Linked DNA regions of Homo sapiens: region 2 is linked to region 1. The links are contacts of gene promoters, found by promoter capture Hi-C in blood cells and fetal thymus (Javierre and others, 2016). All regions are on one chromosome and are shown on one strand. The core of a region is centred on a gene start or on the middle of the fragment in contact, and the rest is flanking DNA. Distances in the headings are between cores, read along the strand shown.

Region 1 (6,964 bases), core at 1,296-3,795:
ATCTATGCCTCTGAGACCAGCAAAGATCTCCCTAGCCAGAGACCCAGAACCTTTCCCCACCCTTGGAACTCAAAGGCCTCTCCCCTCTGCACCATCTGGGTCACCTCCTTCTCTGACAAGCCTTCTCAGCAGATTACCCCCGCCACCTGCCAGCCAGGAGCCCCTCCTCTGCAGTGACTGTAGCTGTCTGTCTACCATTTTCAGGCAGCAGGTGGGGCCACCTGGCCTTACCAGTTAGCCTAGGAATGTTCCAAGGCCTAGTCTGCTCTGCATATGTTTTCTAAGATCTGGCCCCTGGGGAAGCAGCCCCTGATGAAGGGGTGAGCAAACCTCACACAAACAGCAACTACTCTGGCTGGGTGCAGTGGCTCATGCCTGTAACCCAGCACTTTGGGAGGCAGAGGTGGGCGATCACTTGAGCCCATTAGACTAGTATGGACAACATGGTAGGACCCCATCTCTACAAAAAATCCAAAAAACTAGCCAGGTGTGGTGGCACACACCTGTAGTCCCTGCTACTCAGGAGGCTGAGGTGGAGGATTCCTTGAGCCTGGTAGGTCAAGGTTGCAGTGAGCTGAGATCACGCCACTGTACTCCAGCCTGGGCAACAGAGCCAGACCCTGTCTCAAAATAAAAAATAAAAATAAAAATAAGACAAGGAAACATCTACAATGCTGCAGCTACCCTCCTCCTCAGCTAGCCAGTTATTACACAAAAGAAACTGAACATGGGAGATAAACCAGCATAAATGCTTCCCCACTGTGGGGTGGTTCTCCAAGCTCATGCTTAGCTGCAAATGAGGTCCAGCATCCTTTGTATCATCAGTGAACAATGAGACAGACCTGCACATCTTGGCAAAAAAAGCTCTTGTGCATGTCCCCAGAGTACCCGCTACCCAATCCAGCATCCAGAGTCCAACCACTCCGGACCCAGGACCAACTGCTCAGGTTCCTCCCAGACCCAAGGCTCCTGGCCCACTGAGAGTGGGAGAAAAAGGGGTAACCTCACTCTGGGCAGGAAGGAAAATTCCATGCTGCCCTAGAGCACTGTGGTGCCAGCAGCATCATCCTCCACAGTCCCACAGTGTGCAGGCGGGGAAGAGACTAAGAGAATCACGGAAGAGAGAAGGAGGTCAAGAATTTAAGAGAAAAGAAAACAGTTCTATTAGAACCCTAAATGCCTTGTAGGAACCTAGTAAAGTCACCAGATGCACCTACACTTCTCCCAGAGACTTGCATTGTTGATTCCTGATTCTTTGAAGTGTGGGCGGGGTTCCCCAAATGGTCCTCCTAAGCCCACCATCTGGAAATAATTTATTGATAAGTGCATTTTGACAAAAAGTATTCCATTCAGGTGGAGAAGAACACAGCCTCTCTTGGAAGGGGGATGCAGCTCCAGGGCAGGCTCTCAAAGGCTGTGGGGTGGGCGGGTCATTGCATATACTCTGGTCTTTGCACTTGGGGAGAGGAGGGATGGTAAAAACCAACGGCCTGAGGTCTGGCATCATGCCCACTGCCCAGGTGTTTCCCTACACCCACCCAGCTCCCTGAATCACAACAGCTAATTTTACTCCCTCTAGACTCTAGTAGAGCTGGGTCTTCTCCTTCTGGCTACGAAATAGAAAGTGCCCCGCACCCCAACACACACACCCCAATCTAAAAAAAATATATATCCTTGAAACCATTTCCCCATCAGCCCATCTTCACATCTGCAATGCCACTCCTAGAAATTCAGTCCTTTGGGTCTTGAAGGGTTTTAGTTCCATAAGTTCCAGGGAGGGGTCTACCTCAACCATTGACAACTCACATCTCCTGAGAAGTTTATCCAAAACTTTCCAACTGCAATCATCGGCGAACAAGGTCCCTCAACAATGGGACCCCAGTTAACGCGAAGGAGGCAGAGCGAGGTAAGGAGCTTAAATGAGGAGTATGGAGTAGGAACAAGTCTGCAAAGCCCGCGCCCCAGCTTCGCCTGGGATGGCCAGGTCTGGCACTCGCGGGCCGCCTTCCCCGCCCTACCTTCCCGGAATCACATTTGGGCTGGAAGGACCTTCACGTGGCACCCCCTTCCCAGAGGCCGTCACCGAGTCCTCTAGCGAGGGTCTGGGAGCTGGGAGAAGGGTCCGCTTCTCCTCCGCCCCTCAAATCAAAGGCACCCCCTTCGGATGATTCCTAGAAAGGCAATCGCATCAGTGTCCCCAAGCACTTCATCTCCCCAAAAGAAAACTCGTGCAGCCTGGCGTCACTGGGGTCGTCTCCTTACGCCCCTGACTCCTCGCCGCACCCCGGGGCCCCTCTCCATTAGGGGAGTCGGGAGGCACAGACGGTGGGGGTCCCAGCCCCCACCCAGAACTCCCACCCTCGGAGCCTTGACTTCCAGGGCCCGCGCCTGGACAAAAGCATGGGGCGGGCTCACTCACCCGCGCGGCGAAGGCGGCCCGGGAGCCGGGGCACCGGCGCTCGGCGGGGCGCCCCGGCCGCAGGCGCACAGCGCGGGCTCCGAGCTCGCTCAGCGCCCTGCTGCCGACCGGGCGGCGCGGGGAGCCCGCGAGGCGCGTCCGGGACTGGGCAGGGCGGGGCGGGGCGGGGCGGGGCGGGGGTGAGCGAACCGGCGAGAGAGAGAGCAAGTGGGAGAGCGGAGAGCGGACGCGCGCTGAGGAGAGCGAGTGAGAGCGCGGCGCTACGGGGTCAGGACTCAAACCACCCGCTCCAGCCCCCATGCACTGATTTGCATGACATTTGCATAGCGCTCGGGGAGTGGACCTGCTGCCCTTCCCGCCACGCCCACCCGCCTTCTGCCTCGGAGTCCGGAGCGGAGAATCCGCAGCCAAACCTAGCGCCAGACCCGGGCCCCCCTCGCACTTATCCTGCACCGCCCCAGTTAACTCCTCGCAGGCGGCGGTCAGCGGGCTGGTACTGTCTTGGTGCGTGTCTTAGTCCTACACTGGGAGACCTAGGCCTTAGGTCGGGGTCTGATGCTAGCTTCGTGAGCGTGCATGAGACACTGGCTGCCTCTGGGCCTCAGTTTTCTAATCTGTAAAATGAAGATGTCAGCGGAACCATGGGGCTAAAGTTTTAGTGCTGGAAGGTTGTCTATGTAGTTTTTTTCAGACATCCTCCAGTGGTGCAACTCAGCCCCATGGTTCCTCTGACATCCTCCCTTTGTGTGTGTTAAGAATCTCTCATTGGTTTGGAAGATACCTACAAAGTTCTTTAAATTAAAAAAGGGGAAAGGGGAGGGGGGGGAGGGGAGGGGGAGGAGGTGTTTCTGGTTTTGGCTTGCTTTATATTTAGTTTGCACCCAATATGAAATATTTTATAGCTTCTGATCTCTTCACTTGGACCTTCTTTTGTTTTTTTTAAAAAAACTGTTTACTGCAGGTTAAGGAGTGTTTTTAAAAATTTTTTAATTGTAAAATAAAACATAAATACAGAAAACCACAAAAAACAAATATATAGATATATAGACTAGTGAATTATTATAAAGGGAACATCCTTGTAATCACCACCTGGATCAAGAAATAGAACTCTGCCAGCCACCCCAGGAGCCTCTCCATGTGCCCTACCTCAATGACAACCCCCTTTCTCCCTCCTCCCAAAAGTAACCACTAACCTGACTTTCATGTAGTCACTTCTGCTGCTTTTGTTTTTCTTGGTATCTTCCAAGGGTGCACCTTACCCCTCCCCCCACTCTTTTTTTTTTTAATTTGATTTGCCTTTTCAGTCTTTTCCTTACAATTATTTGTTAAATAACTTAAGCCCTTGATCTGTGAGGTTTTCCAGAGTCTGGGGGTTGCACATTCATGAGGCAATTCAGCATGTTTCTCTGTCCTCTGTATTGACAGCAAGTTGGCAGCTGATCCAGGGTCTTCCTCAGACTGAAGTTTGATGTCTTTTGTAAGATTATAGATGGTTGTGTGTTCTTTTCTTCAAGAGGTACATGATCATGATGTCTGGTGTTTGCTCTTTTTTGAGGTTAACAGCCGTCGATGCTCAATTCCTAGATTCATTAATTAATTGAAGTTTGCAAAATCATGGTATTCTAATAATTTTGTTTTCATTTATTAGTTCATAAGTGGATAAGGAGATGCTTCCTCTCATCTACTATTTGATTACCCTGAGATAGGAAAGGCACGATGAATACCTGCTTTTTTTTAAAAAAATTACCCAGTTTTCAAGTTAAGGAATTGATTCTCTGTCATTCTTAGATTTCTTTAATATCATTATAAATTCATGAATTTAAATATATTTGATAGGTTTCCATCTACGATATTAGAGCTCAAATTGTCCCATCTTTGGCCAGTAGGAGCTTCTTCAATATGGCTCCTGGCTCCTTTTGATAAGATTCTAGTAGTCTTTTTTTTTTTCTCTCTCTCTCTCTCTCACTAGTGTGCAAAGAGCTTCAAAGACCCTAGAAGTCTTTGATAGCTTCCTTGCTATCTGATATGACAAGATGTTCCAGGCACATCTGTACATTTGCTGCCTCAAACCTGGAATCAGCCATTTCTCCAAGAAGCTCTAGTTTTTTTGTTTTTTCTTTCCTTCCTTCCTTCTCTCTCTCTTTTTCTTTCTTTTTTTCTTTCTTTCTTTCCTTCTTTCCTTCTTTCCTTCTTTCTTTCTTTCTTTTCTTTCAGATGGAGTCTCACTCTGTCACCAGGCTAGAGTGCAGTGGCACGATCTCGGCTCACTGCAACCTCCACATCCCTGGTTCAAGGGATTCTCCTGCCTCAGCCTCCTGAATAGGTGGGATTATAGGCACGTGCCACCACACCCAGCTAATTTTTGTATTTTTAGTAGAGACGGGGTTTCATCATGTTGGCCAGGATAGTCTCAATCTCTTGACCTCGTGATCTGCCCACCTCGGCCTCCCAAAGTGCTGGGATTACAGGCATGAGCCACCCCGCCTGGCCAGAAGCTCTAGTTTCTTTTGTTGAAATTTTAAGATAACAATATGAGCACTAGGAGTATTCATTGTTACTAGGTTGGTAACTGTTTCTAGGCCTTTTCAATAGACAGAGCTACTAAAGAATACTTCATTTTTTTATATTCTAGAGAAATATTATTCTTCATAATATTTTCATCAGTTTATATTATTTCCAATTTAATTTCAGGACTGTAGTTTTTACTTAACATATATTACATTAGGACCTCTTTTCTTTCATGTAGAGAATTCTGGTTCTCAAGGACAAAAGGGAGGATGAAATTAGAATATCCCAATTTACTAATTTGCTTTAGTTTGCATTAAACATATAATAATAATCTCAGAATAACAATATTAATACTACCATCATCAGTTTTGATTCTTGAAAACAGTTTTTTTTGCATATGCTATCCATCTTTTATAGTTATACTCTATCTAAATTATCAGCTTCTATAGCCATCTATACCATAATCTTCCTATTTAACCCTAATTTAGTCTTAATTTTACAGTTCTACAATTCTAATCCTAATTAAAGTTCAAATATATATTTAATGCTTACCATTAGTTCCTTATGTTTATGTATCTTTAGTCATTTTGGTTGTCTGAAAGCTTGTCCTCTACTAGATTCCTTAGGAAGGGCTCATGGAAAGAATATGCTCTGAGTTCTTGCATGTTGCTTACAGTTTGTTCATGCCATTTTACTTGAAGGTCAATTTTGTTGGATTCAAACTACTTGGTGTCTTGGTCCAGCTGGGTTGCTATAACAACAACAACAAAAAAAAAAAACACAAAATAAGTGGCTTATAAACAAGAAACATTATTTCTTATAGTTCTGGGGGCTGGGAAGTCCAAGATCAAGGCTCCAACAGATTCAGTATCTGTTGAGAGCCCTCTTTCTGGTTTGTAGACGGCACCTTCTCACTTTGCCTAGATGCCCAAATAACTTTATCTTTTTCTTTCAAATCCAGTAATTTTATTAGAATGTTTGTTGGTCATTCTAGTTTGAAAGTAAACAGTGTGTATTTCTTTCAAAATGTGGTTTCAAATACATATATTTTGTTAATTTCAGGAAAATTTTCTTCAATTAAAGTCTTAAATATTTGTTCTGTTTTGGATTGCTTTAGACTGCTTCTCTGGAGACTTCTATTATCTGCATATTGAACCTTTTTTGTCTATCTTCAACATTTGTCACTTTCCCTTAAATCTTTTTAATTTCTTTCTTCATTTGTTTTTAAGTTTATAAATTTCCCTCCTTTTTACCTTATTTTCTTTTAAGTTTTTATTAGTTATATTTATGTGTTCTTGTGTTCCTTATAGGTCAATCTTTATTTCTCAAATGCTTTTTAAAATGTTTAATTCCAAAAAAAAATAAAAAATAAAACGTTTAATTCTTCTGTGAGTTCTGTTCTAATTTCTGAGTTTCTCTAATTCTGATGTATGTTGTTCTTTCATGTTTCATGTCACTCAGTGTGTATTAGCTTTTCTAGGACATTATAGCTTTAATTTTTTTGAGAATATCTTTCTGGAGGTTATTATGATCTTTATTCACTTTGTTGTAGTAGCTATATGAGAGTTGACCTTAGTATTTTTTTTGTTGATCATTTTTACATGAATTTTGTTTTCTTGAACTTTTAAAAGGAGATTTGGTCCAGACAGTTTTTCAAACTTCACAAAGCTTTCCCGTTTGTTGTTTCTGAGTAGTGTCAAAAAATATATATGGTGGCTGGACTTCTAAGATTTCCTGGCTCTGTTTCCCTCACTCACTTTTATCTGGCTCTTCTTTTTCTTTCAACTTGCATTAGTCAGTTTTCACACTGCTATAAAGAGCTACCTGAAACTGGGTAATTTATGAAGAAAAGAGATTTAATTGACTGACAGTTCCTCAGGCTTAACAGGAAGGATGACTAGGGAGCCTCAGGAAACTTACAATCATAGCAGAAGGTGAAGGGGAACCAAGTGCTTTCTTCATATAGTGGCAGGAGAAAGAGAGAATGCAGGGGGAAGTGCCATACACTTTTAAACCATCAGATCTTGTGAGAACTCA
Region 2 (6,964 bases), core at 713-3,212, 140 kb before region 1:
TAGGGGAGTTCAAGAGAATTAGGAAGCAGGTAAAAGGTGTCAATACCCACTTTTACCCAGGCATTCCAACTCTGAAAAACCTATTCCCCTGGCCATGACTCTACCTGTTCCCCTAGGATCCTCACTGCCCTGTTTAACAGCCATCCCCAACCCCATGCCACTGCCTCCCTGCCCGCCCACCTCTCCCCCTTAAGCTTCACTTCCCCCAGCCCTGAATGATTTATAAATCCCTTCTACATGGAGGCTCCTGACAATATTTTGAGGTAGGTGGTATTATTTCTATCTCACCGATAAGGAAACCAGGATTCCAAGAAGTCAAATGACTTATCCAGCTTCACAGGCTTTATAAACCAGGGAGCTGTGGCTTAACACCTAGAACCCTAACTTCACAGTCCACTCTTGAGATTGTCAGGCTTGTCTTGACTCAGAAGTTTTCTGCTATTTTGTGAGTGTGAGAATTGTCAGAACACTGTGGTCTGAGTAACAGAGGGAGAGTTGTAATAGGGACAGGAACATGCATCCCTAACAAACATACAGAGAACCCCTGAGAACCGCCTGAAACAGGAGGAACAGAATGGAAAGACTCCTACTAGTTGAAGGGTCTAACCCTGAATTTTCAGGGTCCCTAGGGCTATGATATGGTTTGGCTGTGTCCCCACCCAAATCTCATCTTGAAATGTAGCTCCCATAATTCCCACGTGTTGTGGGAGGGACCCAGTGGGAGGTAACTGAATCATAGGGTGGGTTTTCTCATGCTATTCTCATGACAGTGAATAAGTCTCATGTGATCTGATGGTTTTATAAAGAGGAGTTCCCCTGCACATGCTCTCTTGCCTGCCGCCATATAAGGCATGACTTGGCTCCTCATTCACCTTCTGTCATGATTGTGAGGCCTCCCCAGCCATGTGGAACGGTGAGTCCATTAAACCTCTTTCCTTCATAAATTACCCAGTCTCGGGTATGTCTATTAGCAGCATGAGAACAGACTAATACAGGCTGGATCAGGGTCAGGGCAGACAGAAACCTCACCTTGAGCCAGGTGACCTGCGGTTGGGGCCGGCCAGTGATCTTGCAGGAGAATCGTCCCATCTGTCCTTCTTTGACCACAACTCGGCCCAGCTTGGTAGCAAACTTTGGTGGGCACTCCCCCCAGATGCTAGGACGGGTCTCCACTGCTGGAGCTGAAAATCTATCCCTGTAAGGAAATTGGCAGAGAATCCAGTCCCAGACAAGGCAGCAATTCAACCATCCTCTCTCCACCTCACTCAAAGGCACTAAGTTAAGGTCAGAAGCCATCAAAGTGTAGCCTTCCCAATTTTATGCCTCAGAAACTTTCTCATGCTCTCTCTAGAAAAATGTGTGGCACCAAAACCTATTTCCTCTACCTCTTGGGCATGCAGCTAGACTTCATTTACTAGCCTTCCTTGCAGTTAGGCATGCCTGAATTCCACTGAGCCCTGGCTGAAAGCCTGGGTTTTAGCCAGGAGACCATGAGCAGAAGAGCTGTATGCCACTTCCAGGGCCGACTCATAAGAACCTCCTGTGAGGCTCTGCAGTCTCTCGTCCACTCTGCTGGTGAGATGCAGAAGGCCCAGTGGGGGCTCAAGGGCCTAGGAGATGAAACTATAAAATGGAAGAAGCCTGGGCTCCTGGAAGATAATGTGGAAGGCTCTCCCCATGTTCCAGGATATCTGAACTGAACTTTCCCTGAGTAAGAAACAAACTTTCCCTGGGTTGAGCCACTGTGATTTGAGGCTTGTCTGTTACAGCAGCTACTGTTACCCGCCTCTTCTAGGCTTGCTTATTTCAATCTTCTGACTATTGCCTTGATTGTTAGAGTCCACTGCAGACTCTGGCCACCTCTCCCACTTCCTTACATTTAGCAGCTGGGCCAGTCAAAGGAGCCAATCACAGAGGCAGCCAGGTCAGGAGGTGCTGTGTAAATGACACATCTCATTGTACTAGGCTCCCGCCCTTTGGTTATTATAACCTAGGAGAGCCAAGACTTACTCCCCAGACCTATCCTGCTCAAGTCAGCAGGAAAGCAATCCAACCCTTACTCTGTCTTGAACATCCAGGACTTACCCTAAGGTTTTGGAAACAACAGGCTGACCAAGCTGCTTCGCAAAACTTCCTGCAAGAAAAAGAGTTGATGAGTCAGGTCTGAGCCACCAACTTGGAGCAATGAAAGTAAAAAGATTCAACAGCAGGGGTGGGTGGGATAGTGATGGTGATCATTAATCTTGACTGAGCATGGGCTGTGTCACTATGGATACTATGGTAGGTGTTTACATACATTATCATGTGAATTTCTTGCAATAATTTTATGAAGCTGATACTACATTATCCTATTTTTTAAACAGATGAGAGAAATAAGATTCAGAGAAGTTAAGTCATCCATACAAGGTCACAAAGTCAGTAACAGTGCAGAAATTCACCCAGGTCTGCCAGATTCTAAAACTCTCAACCACCCTGCTGAGTTGTTAGGGTAGTACGCTCTACCTTCCATTTTGGGGATTATTTGGGGGTGATTCAGGACCTCTCCAGAACATTTTCTCAGTTAAAGGGAGGGAGGGAAAGGCCCATGCCTATCTCTTACCACACCTACTCTTGACTGACACAATCAACACTCCATTCTTCCACTTAAGGCCTGGCAAGTAGCAGCAAGCTGAAAGAGAGCAGGACAGGTCACTGCAGATGAGCTACAGCGGAGCCAGCAGCTCCTGCAGAATCTGCAGTGCTGCCACACTGAACACTGCCAGTCCTGGGCAAGGTGCTGCTATGCTGGACACTGCCAGTCCTGGGCAAGGCGCTGCTATGCTGGACACTGCCAGTCCTGGGCAAGGCGCTGCTATGCTAGACACTGCCAGTCCTGGGCAAGGCGCTGCTATGCTGGGCACTGCCAGTCGGTCCTAGGTGAGATGATGAGGCCATAGTAGGCGCTATCCTACTGGGCGCTGCTGATCCTGGGTGAGCTGTTGCCGTGCTAGGCAGGAGGCCATTAAATAGCAAAGCCAGCAAGGCAGCTGGGGTTAGCTCCTTTCATCCAGCTCCTGCAGCTGGGAGGGACAATTCACAATGTCACCATGAAATAACTCTAAAGTAGTGGGAGTTTTATTTTGAGGGGTGGGGTGGGAGGAAGAGGTCTTTTTTGAGATGATGATCACCCTGAAAGTTGTTCTTCTTTTGCCGCAAGCTGGGGATGTTTATAAAACCCTATCCCAGGGAGGGTAGAGTCATCCTCTGATATCAGCAGACAGTTGCTGTGGGGAATTTGCAGGGAGTTTACTGCAAAAGAGTAAACTTCCTTAACTTTGACTCTGATCACATTTATATGACTGTGTAAGAACATAGGTGTGGAGGAGAAAAATCATGGCTATTTTCATCAGCCACACCCGGTTTAAGATTCCACCAGAACTTTAGTGAAAAGGGATTAATAACAAACACTGGCATCACATTTAAGCTGTGGCTCCATATAATTGGTGATTACGATACAGGCATTTCTGTTTAACATTACTTAGTGAGCTGTGTCTAGTTTTCATTCCTGAAAGTGTTTTGGTTTTTGTCATTCCATTCTCTATTCAAAAGTAAAAGAACTTCTAAATTGATAAAAGGAGAGACTTGTTTTGAAAGGACCCAACTGACAGTCAAGATGCTGGGCCCTCAGATGCTGCTGGAGGCAGAGCCAACTGTCCAGTCCTCCTGGAAATACTTGAGTGAGGAAAAATCATAAGCTTTAAAGATGCTCTGCTCTTGGGACAGCACCTCCGTTTCTGTGACTCCATTCAAAGGAAACGACGCTAAAGTTAGAAGAGAAAGTTTACACAGCTATTCACTTTTATCTTATTTGTAATAGTGAAAGTTAGAAGCAACATAAATGTCACTCAGTAGGAAGAAAATAAGTAGTCAGGTAAAATGTACAATTAGACATCTTATTCTGCCATTAAATTATGTTTAAGAATATCTGAAACGTGCAGGTACATGTTAGGATATTATCTCATTCGTTCCTCAGCACACTCCAAATGGGCTATGATCCTCTCCGCTCCACTGGGCTCCATCCCAGCCACAATCTTGTCAAACCCAATGGTTGACACTCTGTCTCCATCTCACTCAGATGCTCAGTAGTATCTGACACAAGGTCCCACTCCCCTTCAAAGCACTTTCTCTTCTAGACTTTCCTGCTTTTACCAGGTTATTCATCTTCTCTCAACCTCCTTCTCTGCTCAACCTTTGCATGCTGGGGCACCCTAGGGCTGAGTCCTGGGCCTCTCCCCAGCTCCATCTAATTTCTCCCAGGAGGTCTTAGTCCCATAGCTTTAAATATCATCTATATGCTAAAGACCCAACCCATATCCCCACTAGAACTTCTTATTCACTCATCAGATGTATCCGGAACAAATCCCAGCACATTGTAGGTATTTAAATATTTGTTAAATACATTTTGTGCAGCATACAAAATTACCTATTTAATGTGATCATAATTAGGTAAAACTAAAATACCCAAAGACAGGAAAATGACAAGAAAAGGTATCATGTTATTAATACTGATTATTTTGGGGGTTGTGGTACTCTGAGTAATTTTATTCAGCTGTATTTTCTAAAACCTATAAATACAATGGTAAAGAAGAAATAAAACATGAAAAACATAATCTAGTTGCAAAAAAAGGGGCAGGGAGGAAGAAAGTAAAATCTGGCATCCAAATAGAGGATGGATAGGGCCTTCTAAACACGCTCCATACAACAGCATTATCCAGTCTCTAACATTTCATCACAAAATATCCGTGTACCATCCATTGTACTACCCACACTACTGTATCACTCATTTCATCTGGGAATAAAGATTTTATAAAAATTAGACTGATTAACTGATGAATGGATAAAGAAAATGTGGTGCATCCATACAATGAAGTATTATTCAGCTGTAAAAGGAATGAAGTACTAACACGTGGTACAACATGGATGGACATTGAAAAAGTGCATTAAGTGAAGGAGCTCAGACCCAAAAGGCCATGTATGATAGGATTCCGTTCATATGAAATGTCCAGGAGAGGCAAATCCATAGAGAAAGATGGTGGTTAGTAGTTGCCAGGAGCTGGGGGAGGAGGGGATGGGGAATTAATGCTCAATAGGTATGGGGTTTCCATTTGGGGTAATAAACAAGTCCTGGAATGAGATAGCAGTGATGGCTGCACAACACTGTGAATGTACTTAATGACAATTGTACACTTTAAAATGGTTAAAATGGTAAATTTTATGTTAGGTATGTATATTTTACCACAATAAAAAAAATTAGACTGAGCATTTTAAAAAGTCTTGGGAGCTAAATATCTTAATCCAAAAGGCTTAAATTCCTTTCTTCCTTAAAAAATAAATAAAAGCAAAAACATGGCACTTTCCCAAAGAATAGCAAAAGAATGCTGGGGAGAGATACTTCTATGTCAGGGTAAGAGGGTATGATGAAAACATATCACATAAAGCAGTCAGCTAAAAATGGAATTGATGGATGCTTATTTTAATATGAGTTAACAGAGAGTTCACATCAAGACAAAAAGAATTTAGGCTAAAATTACTAACAGGGTCTATTTATAGGAAAAATTTGAAGTTGCAAATTGTTAGATAAGGCAAAATTAATTTTGTAAAAGTATGAAAATCTGGCAGAACAGTAAGGTTATGTAGAAAAATAAGTGGAAAGGGGATTAAAGTAGAAATGCAAAAAATAGAAGAATGAGTTAAGAGAACTGGTGAGGACAGAAGCAAGTTGCTGAGAAAAAGGAGAGGCCAAGACACTGACGGTATTTGATCTTAGATTTTTCAAAGACAAGTAAAAGAGAATGCTGGCAGGTCTTAGGATTGGAAAGTTCAGTGGTGGAAGGGATAAGGTAGACCTAGCTCTGTTTGTCAGGTGATACAGAAAGACTGAATCGGGTCAGAACATACTGCTCAAAAAGTGAATAATGTGATCAAAATTGAAAGGAGCCGAAATGCTTCTAAAAATGTGCGGTGATATAATTTATCATCCAAACAGAGACTCTCAACACTGAGAGAGATGCAATTAATAATCATGCCAGGATAGCAGGAGAAAGCTAGGACTGTTCCAGGAAAAGTGGGGAGCAGTCACCCTACTTGTAGCCAACTTCAAAGTGTTTTTTGAGGATTACTTAAAATAGTGGTTCTCCACTCTATCAGAACAAATATCCGCTTTTTATAACACGTATTAACTGATATCCCCATGCGACCCTGATCAAAATTCCCTTCTAATCACACATACACGTATGTGATAATTTCAAAAAGAAAATAAATGTAAAGCCTTAACTAAAGCATTACGGTGATATAGAGCGAAAGTGAATTATAAAAATATGGATTTCAATATGCAACTGTTCAAGCATGACCATTTCAATTTACATAAGTGCTCAGGCACATTAGATGACAATGAAATGGCAGATTCTTGCATTAACTCCTAATGCATGTTTAGATTTAAAAGTGAATGATGAAAAATCATGCTGTACAAGTAGCACAGCAAAGTGAAAGAGCACAGGTCTACAGTGGACACTAGAATATTCAAATAAAAAGATGTATTATATAAAAAAGAAAGAAGAAAATAACTTTAAAAGAAGATAACATAGCAAGACAAGTTACAGACCACTGAAGTAGAGAACATTTTTAGAAAGATGATTAATGTATTAATGTGGTGTTAAAACAATTCTCCGTTTTATGATACGGGGTTGAGTAGTAAGAAAATTATCACAGTAAAATTTATCACAGGACTTCAAGGTAAAATCTCACCTTACCTTGAAATACACATTCAGTGAATGGTTTTGACAAAGGAACAGTGATAATAACAAGAGACTATAGAGAAGACATGTGCTAGGATGAAAACAGCAGTCATCTCCAAAAAATAATGGAAATACATAATTTTTTTACAATATAGATTTATTACTGTTCCCCAAAGTTTTAAAAAATGTGA

Evidence for each region. The method cuts DNA at HindIII sites, captures the fragments that hold promoters and counts their contacts. A CHiCAGO score of 5 or more calls a contact.
Region 2: a contact is called between a fragment that was not itself captured here and the fragment with the promoter of MYLK in region 1, in 1 of 17 cell types (endothelial precursors). The highest score is 7.6, in endothelial precursors.

Annotation. Positions count from the first base shown.
Region 1 is chr3:123,881,787-123,888,750 of GRCh38, forward strand. It overlaps MYLK (myosin light chain kinase), which reads right to left and starts at 2,546. Exons shown (of 34, transcript NM_053025.4): 1 at 2,420-2,546. It also overlaps a transcript of CCDC14 not described here. RefSeq lists a silencer at 2,426-2,585. The HindIII fragment of the contact is 5,860 bases long and covers 1-5,527 here.
Region 2 is chr3:123,737,868-123,744,831 of GRCh38, forward strand. It overlaps MYLK (myosin light chain kinase), which reads right to left. Exons shown (of 34, transcript NM_053025.4): 6 at 2,086-2,134; 7 at 1,030-1,195. Among named protein-coding and RNA genes, the nearest start is that of MYLK-AS2, 52 kb to the left of the region's middle. The HindIII fragment of the contact is 3,540 bases long and covers 193-3,732 here.